2 separate regions of the Homo sapiens genome follow, and region 1 is linked to region 2. Evidence: promoter capture Hi-C in 16 types of primary human blood cells and fetal thymus (Javierre and others, 2016). All regions are on one chromosome and are shown on one strand. The core of a region is centred on a gene start or on the middle of the fragment in contact, and the rest is flanking DNA. Distances in the headings are between cores, read along the strand shown. Region 1 overlaps BPIFB4 (BPI fold containing family B member 4). Region 2 holds the start of EFCAB8 (EF-hand calcium binding domain 8).

Evidence for each region. Contacts are between HindIII fragments. The CHiCAGO score rates a contact against its expected background, and 5 or more counts as called.
Region 1: a fragment that was not itself captured here is called in contact with the fragment with the promoter of EFCAB8 in region 2 in 1 of 17 cell types (megakaryocytes); the score reaches 5.2 in megakaryocytes.

The regions. Positions count from the first base shown.
Region 1 is chr20:33,100,524-33,105,503 of GRCh38, forward strand. BPIFB4 (BPI fold containing family B member 4) reads left to right here. Exons shown (of 18, transcript NM_182519.3): 15 at 2,449-2,491; 16 at 4,287-4,350. Among named protein-coding and RNA genes, the nearest start is that of BPIFB4, 23 kb to the left of the region's middle. The HindIII fragment of the contact is 184 bases long and covers 1,433-1,616 here.
Region 2 is chr20:32,857,184-32,862,483 of GRCh38, forward strand. It overlaps EFCAB8 (EF-hand calcium binding domain 8), which reads left to right and starts at 1,740. Exons shown (of 27, transcript NM_001143967.2): 1 at 1,740-1,823. LOC119746555 (a long non-coding RNA gene) reads left to right here. Exons shown (of 1, transcript NR_171378.1): 1 at 1-1,568. RefSeq lists an enhancer at 1,607-2,419. The HindIII fragment of the contact is 6,288 bases long and covers 107-5,300 here.

The sequences.
Region 1 (4,980 bases), core at 275-2,774, 240 kb after region 2:
CGGTGCTGGTGCTGCTCATGGAGGAGCCACCAGGGAGCGGGTAGAGGTCTCCTGTGTGGCCATCAGGGCTGGGTAAACCCAAGGGGCTGCAAAGGTGACGATGGCTCATGCCTACCATTACCACTGTCACAAGCCAGGCAAGGTGGGTGAAGCCGTGAACTTAGAAAGAAACTACTGCCAAAATCAACAGTCAGTAATAATGATGCTGGGGTGTGGGCACAGTAGCCCATGCCTGTAGTCTCAGTGCTTTGGGAGGCCGAGGCTGGAGGACTGATTGAGGCCAGGAGTTTGAGACCAGACTGAGAAACATAGCAAGACACCATCTCTACAAAAATAGAAAAATTAGCTGGGCATAGGTACACACGTGTAGTCCTAGAAAAAATTAGCCGGGCTTGGTATCCATGTGCCTGTAATCCCAGCTACTCAGGAGGCTGAGGCAGGAGCCCAGGAGCTTGAGGTTGTGGTGAGCTATGATTGTGCCACTGCACTCCAGCCTGGGCAACAGAGCAAGACCCTGTCTCTAAGTAACAGTGATGATGATGAGGAGGAGGACGAGGAGGAGGAGGAGGATGCTGGTGATGATGACATACCAGGCTCTGCTCTATGTACTTGAAGTGTACGTATTATCTTGTTTCTCCCCTCTGATGGTCCCAGTGGAAGTCAGGGCTATTATTCTCCCTTTGTAGGGAGAAAACTAGGGCTGGAAACAGTGGATTTACTTACCCAGGGCCACCCAGCAAGTACATAGAGGGGCTGTGAGCCAACCCAGGTTCATGTGACCTGCTGCATTGGATGGGTACAATCATGCGCTTTGGAGCCAAGCAATATGGGTTCAAATCCTGATGTGACCACTGACTGACTGTGTGATATTGGCCAACCAACTTCACTCTGAGCCTCAGTTTTCTCATCTGAAAATGGGGATAATAGTCACTACCTCGTAAGATTCATAAAAAGAATAATTATTATTCATTGGATGCTTTCCGTGTGCCAGGTATTTGGCTAAGTCCTAGGTGTGTCTTCATTTAATTCTTTCTTTTTCTTTTCTTTTGAGCCAGGAGCTCGCTCTGTTGCCCAGGCTAGAGTACAGTCACGGCTCACTGCAGCCTTGACCTCCCCAGCTCAAGCGATCCTCCTACCTCAGCCTCCCAAGTAGCTGAGATTACAGGCATGCACCACCACGCCAGACTAATTTTTATATTTCTAGTAGAGACGGGGTTTCGCCATGTTGGCCAGCCTGGTCTTGAACTCCTGGGCTCAAGTGATCTGCCTGCCTCGGCCTCCCAAAGTTCTGGGATTATGGGCATGAGCCACTGCACCCGGCCTTCCTTTAATTCTTGATATAAGCCTATGGAAATAAGTACTATCATTATTTCCATTTCAAGATTAAATGAGGTCATATGTAAAATTTTTAGCATGTGACTAGATCATTGTAAGCTTTTCTTTTACAACCAATATTTCTTAAGCCCACCAATGGCAGTTACTCGTGATTAATATAGTGCACATCAGAGACATCCAGGAGTTCCCAAGGAGGCAAGATTCAGCCTGCAGCCTGGATAAGGAGTAGGGGCCAGCTGGGCAAGAGCTGGGTATTTCCTGCAGGGAGAGCAGCATGGGCAAGCTTCGCAGAGAGGAAAAGGGCACGGATACTGTGGGGTGCGGTGCCTGAGAGGGAGAGAGGCTGGGTAAGGAAGTCAGGAAGGAAGAAAACATGTCCCAAGCGGAGAGTCTTGTTTCCTTAGAAGGTACCTTTATTTCCCTCCTGCTGGACACCGAGCTGATGCTTCTGAACAGCCCCGAACGATTTCCGCCCCACGGGCAAGCCCGGTCTGGCCTCTCTCGGGTAGGACTGTCAGCTGTATTGAGATTCAGGTGCAGCAAGACGGAGGCCCTTATAGAGCAGAGCGAGACCTCAAACCCCGGCCTCAGCCTCCCATCTCAGAACAGCACAACAGTGAGAGTGCAGGTTCAGGGTGCGAGGCCTAGGCTATCCCTCCCTGGCTCTGTGGCTGCAGTAAATTACCCTGGAGCCTGCTCCACTGGAGGGCTGGAAGGATTACACGAGGTGATGGTGATCACTCATGCACCTATGGCAGGGCTCTGGAGCAGCGCTTTATGGGAATATCCCCTTTAGTCCTAGCAGCCACCCACTTTGCAGATGAAGAAACTGAGGCATAGAAAGGTAAAGTACCTTGACTAAGGTCACAAAGCTAGTAGGTGGCAAAGCTATGATTTGAGCCTTCTCCGTGTGGTGCATGAAGCCCTTAGCATGGTGTCCGACGTGTAGTTAGCGCTCAGCATGTGAGAGCCAGCATTGTTCTTATTAAATCCCTGCAGGTGGAGAGTGATCGTGAGGATAGTGGAGGGGCTTCTCACAATTTGTTGCAATGCAAGAGCCTTATGATTTTCAGGCAATCCCTGCTTCTCACAGGCTGTTTTCTTCGTCTACAGGACCAGCCTCAACCTCAGAACCTCAAACGTGGGCAACTTTGATGTAAGTACCATGTTTAGTTCCCAGGGCAAGATCTTCTGGGAAGGAGCCCAGGACGTGTCTTCCGGGAATGGTGTTCCTGTGAGGCTGGCTGGGCATGGGGAGTTTGTGAATTCCAAAGTGCTCCCGTCAACACTATCAGCCCTCATTTTGCAGATGGACAGATGTAGAAACTGAGGCCCACAAGGCAAGTGAGGGGCAGAGGACAGACTCACAGCTCCTTCTACTCTGCCTCGGGTGCTGTCCCATGTTAACTGGCTGCCCCATGGGGGGCCACTTGGCCCAAATCGCTCCATTTCAGGGTGGGGAGGCACAGTGGGCAGCCTTGTCCTACAGGACCACTTTCCTTCTGGAGTTAGGAGCCCACTGACTCCTGTGTGACCTTGAGCGATATCAACCCACTCTGAGCCTCAGTTTCCCCATCTGTAAAATGAATACAATTTGAGTTCATTTCTAACCTCCCTTCTTGCCCCTGGGTTGTGGAATTCTGCTTTTCCAAGGGTCCAGAAATCTGAGATGCTCACATTCTAGCGTTGGGTCCTGTTTTATCTCTTTGTTCACTCTTGGGTGCCCCACCCCCACCTAAGGCTTCAGAAACACTCCTTCCTCCCCACCCCCCCACCTCCGCTTTTTATAAATTGACAACTAAGCATCTGCTAGCTTTCTGGGACAAGCTTGGATGAGATCTCCACATGTGCAGAAAAAGTCAAACCCATTCATTGTGTTGCTAATTTTATAGCTTTTCTAACCCAAAAAGCTACAGCCTGTGAAGCCGATCTTGCCAGCTTCATTTTATAAGGATAAACTGCCCAAGGCTTCCCAGCTGGTTGGGGCAGAGTTGGGATTAGAACTGAAATCTCTGGACTCCAAGTGAAGAAAGGGGCTGACAGTGTAAAATTAATGAATTAATGAAGCTATCGAGATGGGCCCTAGGCACTGAATTATGCTTTTTTTTCTCTTTTAATGAGGTTTTCTCATTTAATCCTTACCACCGTGTTATGATTTGGGTATTATTATTACACCCATTCTTCCAAATAAGGAAGGTAAGCTCAAGTGACTTGCCCAAGGCAACAGAGCTAGGAAGAGGCACTGCCGGAAAGTGAGTCCATGCCCTCACCCTCTGCAGACTGGAACATCAGGCATGTTACATATAGGGGCTTATGTCTGATTTTTATAACCACCCTATGAGGCAAGGGTTACTCACTCCTGTTTTCAGATGTGGAAACCAAGGCTTAGAGAAGTTAAGGGAGGTAACATATGAAAAGGCTCAAGGCCAGGAGTTTTACGTGATCTACCCACCATCCTCACCGCATCCTTGCAAACTCAGCTCACTGACCCATTTTACAGCTGAGGAAGCTGAGGGTTAGAGAGGTGAAGGAGCCTGCCCAGAGGCCCACGGAGACTGAGCTGGGATGGGAACCTGGGGTGTTGGCTCCAGGGCCATTGGGACTTCTGTGATGCCATGACAGTGCCATCGGGGCCAGGCCACCCTGAAACCTGTGCTCTGTGCCTCCCAGGGGAGGAACTAGGCCTCCCTCAATCCCTGCTTCATAGGGGCCTTGGGCCACCACCCATGCTGGGCCTCAGTCTGCCCATCTGCACAATGTGCAAGTTGATGGGGGGCACCTTAAGGCTGCCGGTGAGAAATTCTGGGGTCTCAGGGGTTCTGACTGCCAGAACCTAGACTCTCCCAGAGCAGGTCTGTGTCTCCACCTTGAGCCAGGGGAGCAGACCCAAGGGGCCCTCTGGAGCTGAGCAAACCCCCTGCCCAGGCTCTGTCCTCCTTCTTCCTCTGCAGATTGGCCTCATGGAGGTGCTGGTGGAGAAGATTTTTGACCTGGCATTCATGCCCGCAATGAACGGTGAGAGCGGGTGCCTGTGCCTCTCTGGGAGCTTGTGGCTTGGGTACTGGGGGATACTGGCTTGTTGGGCATGCTGGATGTGCATCTATCCTACCTCAATAGTATTTCTGAGCACTTCCTTTGAAGCGTGTCGATGAAAGCCTCCAAATCCAAACGTGGCCCCCAAAGTTCCAGCACCTTCCTTATTTGCTTCTTTCTTGTTTGGCTGATTGTTTTATTTTTCTGATTATCTATGAAAATTCCGATTATGTATTAACATTGTGTGTGTGCAAGTTTTAGAAAATATAAAACAATTTAAAAAAAACTCACCTCGCAGAGGCAATGAATCTCAACATCTGAGCATATTTCCTTCTAAACTCTTTTTCTCCATTGTTTTCCCATATGATTGAGATCTTTCCTGACTCATATTTAAACATGTATTTATTTTTAATGATACAGGAACTACAGGAATACATTCTTATTGTGAAAAGTTCCATTGGCGCAGATACAGCTAAAGTTGCTCTTATCGACATCCCCAGCCTCCTTCCTAGCCCAGAATCTGCCCCCCTAGGGAACCACATCAAGTTAGGAGGTTTTCTTGCCCAACTTTATAAACAGAGTAGACTGAGCTTGCTTTGCTCTCTGGGGCGT
Region 2 (5,300 bases), core at 490-2,989:
TAAAAGGCTCTCTTTTTGGCTATAGAGTTGCATCTTGAAATTTTTGACAAATTACATAGAGCTGAAGAAGGATACAAGTTTTGATATCTTAAAATCACAGGGTTGAAGCTTGAAAGGACAGTATTGGCATTGCAGCTAAGTGGGAGTGTGAGGAAGCGCCTTCTCTAGGGCAGGTAATTGCATCTGTTAATGTGGTCCTTGGGCCCCTGAGTTGCTGCCTTCCAATCAGAATTCCCTTAGCATTAGCCAGTGACGCCTGAATTAATCTCAGGTAGGACTTCTAACTTTTTTCCAAAATTATTTTTGTGCAGAGGTTTATCTAGATTTTTCTTCTAAATGTCCTCCTCCCCACTTGTTTTATTATTACTGTTTTTTTCTCTCTTTAATTTTTTTTTTTTTTTAATAGAGACATGGTCTCACTATGTTGCCTGGGCTGATCTCAGACTCCTGGGCTCAAGTGATCCTCCTGCCTCAGCTTCCCAAAGTGCTGGGATTATAGGCGTGAGCCATTGCGCCTGGCTCTGTTACTGTTTTTCTAACCTGAGTTACTTAGGATCATATTTTCATTCTTTTTTAAAAAGATGGGAGTTTTCTGAACTTTTCCTTAACTAAAAAGTGGAATGCATCTTAATATTTTCCTTTTTTTACTTGTGTTTCTCCCCAGGGAGGGAAAAACATATTTATTGTGACAGAATTTAGCATATTTTAGGCCACATTAAAATACTGATAAATGTATTAATCAGTGAAAATAGGTTATAGTGAAAAATATATACCATTTGATTAATAAAAATGTTATTGGAAAAATGCAAGAACTGCTGTAAGAATTGCTAACATTGTGTTGGAAAATAAATATACTAAGCTAAGAAACAATGGGAAACTGTCATATGTAGGGCCAACAGCCTTTTTTTTTTTAAACCCTTCCAATTTATTAATATCTAGTCTAATAAACCCTGATTTATAGGACCTCTGCACCTTTTTTGACTTTTTATTCATCCATTCTTAATATTCTACACTATGACAAAATCCTTAAAACTCCATTATTGATGAAATGGGAACAGACTTTTGTTTTTGTATGTTGGTGTTCTCTGAGTGGTGAAGGCCCAGGGAGAATGTTTTGTTTGGTGGTCACTTAGCATTTGAAAACATCCACTTCCTTGTGACTTAGCTGGGTATCTTTTAACATCTGGAAGCCACGTCCCTGATTGAAATCTCTGGAGACAACTTACCTTTCACCAACTTGTCTGCCAAATTGCACCATGGACCAAGATTGCAGTGGCTGCATCAAGTCTAGGCCTGCCCTGAAGTCTGGATTTGTAAGTCCCCCATTTCAAATGGGGCAGAAGGCAGAGGAGCAGAGGAGCCACTGTGCCTTTCGCTGTCCTGGAGCCAGTTGGCCTTCTGGTTTTGGTGAACCCTGCTTTTATAAGAGGACTCCCTGGCATCTTCCAGTTTCCCGCTACTTGTTTTATGTATTATTTTATGTCTGTGTTTGTCCTGGAGTGCTGTAACTCCTTTCACTGTCTGCTGTAAGTTCAACTTCTTCAATAAAAGAAATGTTTCAAATTGGATGAAAAATGGTTCTGTGATTATGGTTTGTGGGACGGGTTCTGATGCTTCATTTATGTTCTTCATACGGAATTCTGTCTCATTTCCCTAGTTCTAAATATGACCAGCAGACCCAGAGTTCCATCTCGACTTCATAAAGGAGCTGTCTTGGACTGGGAACAGCTGCCAATGTCTTTGTTGAGATGGGAGTTGGAAAGTGTTAGCACTTTGCCAGACTTTGCCAGCAAGATTAACTGAGGAGATCAAATTGAGTCAGGGTGAGTGAGGGTTTTAGGTGAAAGTTGCTCTCCAAAAGATTGGATACCTCTGCTGAAGACCTCTGCCTGACCTCCAAGGCTGGAGAGCAGCTCTTATCTGTGTCCTGGCTGGCTTTCAATGCATGTATCCTTAAGTCATCTGCCTCTACAAATTCGTACAAACCACTCGTTCCCCTCTCATCCCTAGCATGTTCCCCTAGTGGCTGCTCTGAATTCTCACCCCTGTTCTGGATGGTACTCTCCCACCTGCCTTGCCCTGCCCCTCTTCCGTCAGCTCCGGACAGGTCAACTTTAGGGAATAGATTGAGGCAGATGGATGTGACTTCTGATCTGACCTGTTCTCCAATTCTAAATATCAACCGAGTTTTACATCTCAGCCTTCCCTTCCTTCCCTTCAGAGTTGGAGGAATGGTACTTGTCTTGGCCTCTCCCCTCTTGCTTTTGCCCTTTTCTTTTGGGTGGTCTCTGTTGGCAGCAACCAGCACTTTTTTTCCCATTTGGCGTTTTACCTCTGTTCATGAACATACATAGAACCACTTTCTCCTGGTGAAAGACATTTATCTTACAAAATATTTAGTTTTGAAATAATTAAAAATATATAAATAGTTGTAAGACTACTACAAAGAACTTCCCTTTGTCCAGATAGACTAATTGTGAACATTTTGCCACATTTGTGTTATTATACATGTTACTTGTTAAACCATTTGAGAATTACAGACATCATGCCCTTTTACCCCTAAATACTTTTCAGTGTACATTTCCTGAAACAAGGACATTCTCATAACCACAATACAGTTATCAAAAGCAGAAAACATTAATATGCTATCTAATAATATAGAGTCCATGTTCAAATTTTACATAATTTCACCAAATAACAGCCCTTGCAGCATTTTTGTTTTTTCCCAATCGGATTCAATTCAGAATCGTGCATTGCCTTTAGTTGTTGGGTCTCTTGAGTCACCTTTCATCTCTAACAGTTCCTTAGCCTTTCTTTGGTTTACATGGCATTTTATTTTGGCCAGGCGCGGTGACTCACGCCTGTAATCCCAGCACTTTGGGAAGCCAAGGCGGGCGGAAAGCACTTGAGGCCAAGGAGTTTGAGACCAGCCTGGCCAACATGGAGAAATCCTGTTTCTACTAAAAATACGAAAGTTAGCTGGGCATGGTGGCGTGCACCTATAATCCCAGCTACTGAGGAGGCTGAGGCATGAGAATCATCAGAATCTGGGAGGTGGAGGTTGCGGTGAGCTGAGATTGAGCCACTGCATTCCAGCCTGTGACAGAGTGAGACTCTCAAAAATAAAAGCAAAAAAAAACCCAGTTATTTTGTAGAATATCCTGTAATGTGGGTTTGTCTGTTTCCTTATGATTAGATTCAGATCATGTATTTTTTTGGCAATAATACTACTGAAGCATTGTGCCCTGCATGTATCGGATCAGGAGGTGTGTGATGGATGTCATTTTGTTCCATCGCTGATGGTGGTAACTTTTTTTTTTTTTTTTTTTTTTTTTTTTTTTGAGATGGAGTCTTACTCTTTTGCCTAGGCTGGAGTGCAATGGCACAGTCTTAGTTCACTGCAACCTCCACCTCCTGGGTTCAAGCGATTCTCGTGCCTCAGTCTCCCGAGTAGCTGGGATTACAGACGTCAGCCATTGTGCCCAGGCTATTTTTTCATTCTTTTATAAAAATTGGCATCATAGTGTGCACCCTTTTCTGCATCTTGGTTTTTTTATTTATTTATTTTTTTGAGACAAGGTCTCATTCTCTCACCCAGGCCCTGGAGTGCAGTGTTGTGATTACAGTTCACTACGGCCTCAAACTTCTGGATGCAGGTAATCCTCCCATCTCACCCTCTTGAGTAGCTGGGACTACAGGGGAGTGTCACCATACCCAGATAATTTTTTGTATGTTTTGTACAGATGGGGTTTCACCATGTTGCCCAGGCTGGTCTCAAATTCCTGGGCTCAAGCGATCTTCCCACCTTGGCCTCAAGTGTTGGCATTACAGGTATGAGCCACTGTGCCTGGCCTGCATCGTGCTTTTCTTATTAGTACTTCATGGAAATCTCTCTTAGCTGCTGGAAGTCAGATTCATCCTTCTGATGTTTGGGTGACGTCCTAGGTGCAGATGCACTGATTTGTTCATTTCTGTGTCTATAATGGTTCACTTTTGGTTTTTGCTCCTATGAATGATGCTGCAGCAATCACTCTTCAACAGTGGCCTTTCACAAAGGAGTCATTTAAATTACTACCCACCATCCTACCCACTCCACTGAAACACATTTTATTTTATTTTTTTGAGACGGAGTTGCGTTCTTGTTGCCCAGGCTGGAGTGCAATGGCACAATCTCGGCTCACCGCAACCTCCGCCTCCTGGATTCAAGCAGTTCTCCTGCCTCAGCCTCCTGAGTAGCTGGGATTACAGGCATCCACCACCACACCCAGCTAACGTTTGTATTTTTAGTGGAGATGGGATTTCTCCATGCTGGCCAGGCTGGTCTTGAACTCCTGACATCAGGTGATCCGTCTGCCTCGGCCTCCCAAAGTGCTAGAAGTACAGATGTGAGCCACCGCGCCTAGCCGTTGAAACACATGTTAAAGATTGCCATGAGCCTGGTGTGGTGGCATGTGCCTGTTGTCCCAGCTACTTGGGAGGCTGAGATGGGAGGATCACCTGAGCCCAGGAGTGCAAAACCAGCCTGGGCAACATTGCAAGACCCCATCTCAAAAGATCGCCATGAACCCTTTTTTAATTAAAATAAAAATCAGAGAATTGCATGATTTAGGCTATAAACATCTTCCATAATCTCACCTACCAGAGATGACTGCTATTAATTTTGGAGTATATGTTTCCAGGCTCTTTTTTATGCATGTGCCAATATGCACATGCATATATTCTTAACAGAAATGAACTTAACATTTTACATACACTTTAGTTTTTTCACTGGTAACCTCTTAATTGCCTTTTTCAGTGGCTGTTTCTTTCCCTTATCACCTTAGGTCACTTTGTAGCGTCCCATTCTCCTAGCTGTCTTGTGTGTTTCTCCCTCTTTCTGTCCTCTAAATGTAGCCACTCCTCAAGTTTCAGTCCCCAGATTTCCAGATACTTGTTTTTATTATTTCTTTTCTTTTTTTTTTTTTTGAGACAGGGTCTCACTCTGTCATCCAGGCTGGAGTGTAGTGGTATGATCTCAGCTCTCTGCAGCCTCAACCTCCTGGGCTCAAGTAATTCTCCCACCTCAGCCTCCTGAGTAGCTGGGTGTATAGGCATGTGCCACCACACCTGGCTAATTTTGGATTTTTTGTAGATGTGGGGTCTCAATGTTGCCCAGGCTGGTCTCAAACTCCTGGATGCAAGCGATCCTCCCGCCTCGGCCTATTTTTTATTCCTAATTGGACAGCCTAGTATCACATGCATTAAAACCACTTTCCCTCTTTGCTCCTTTTTCTGAAAGTGGTTCTGGCATTTCTGTTAGC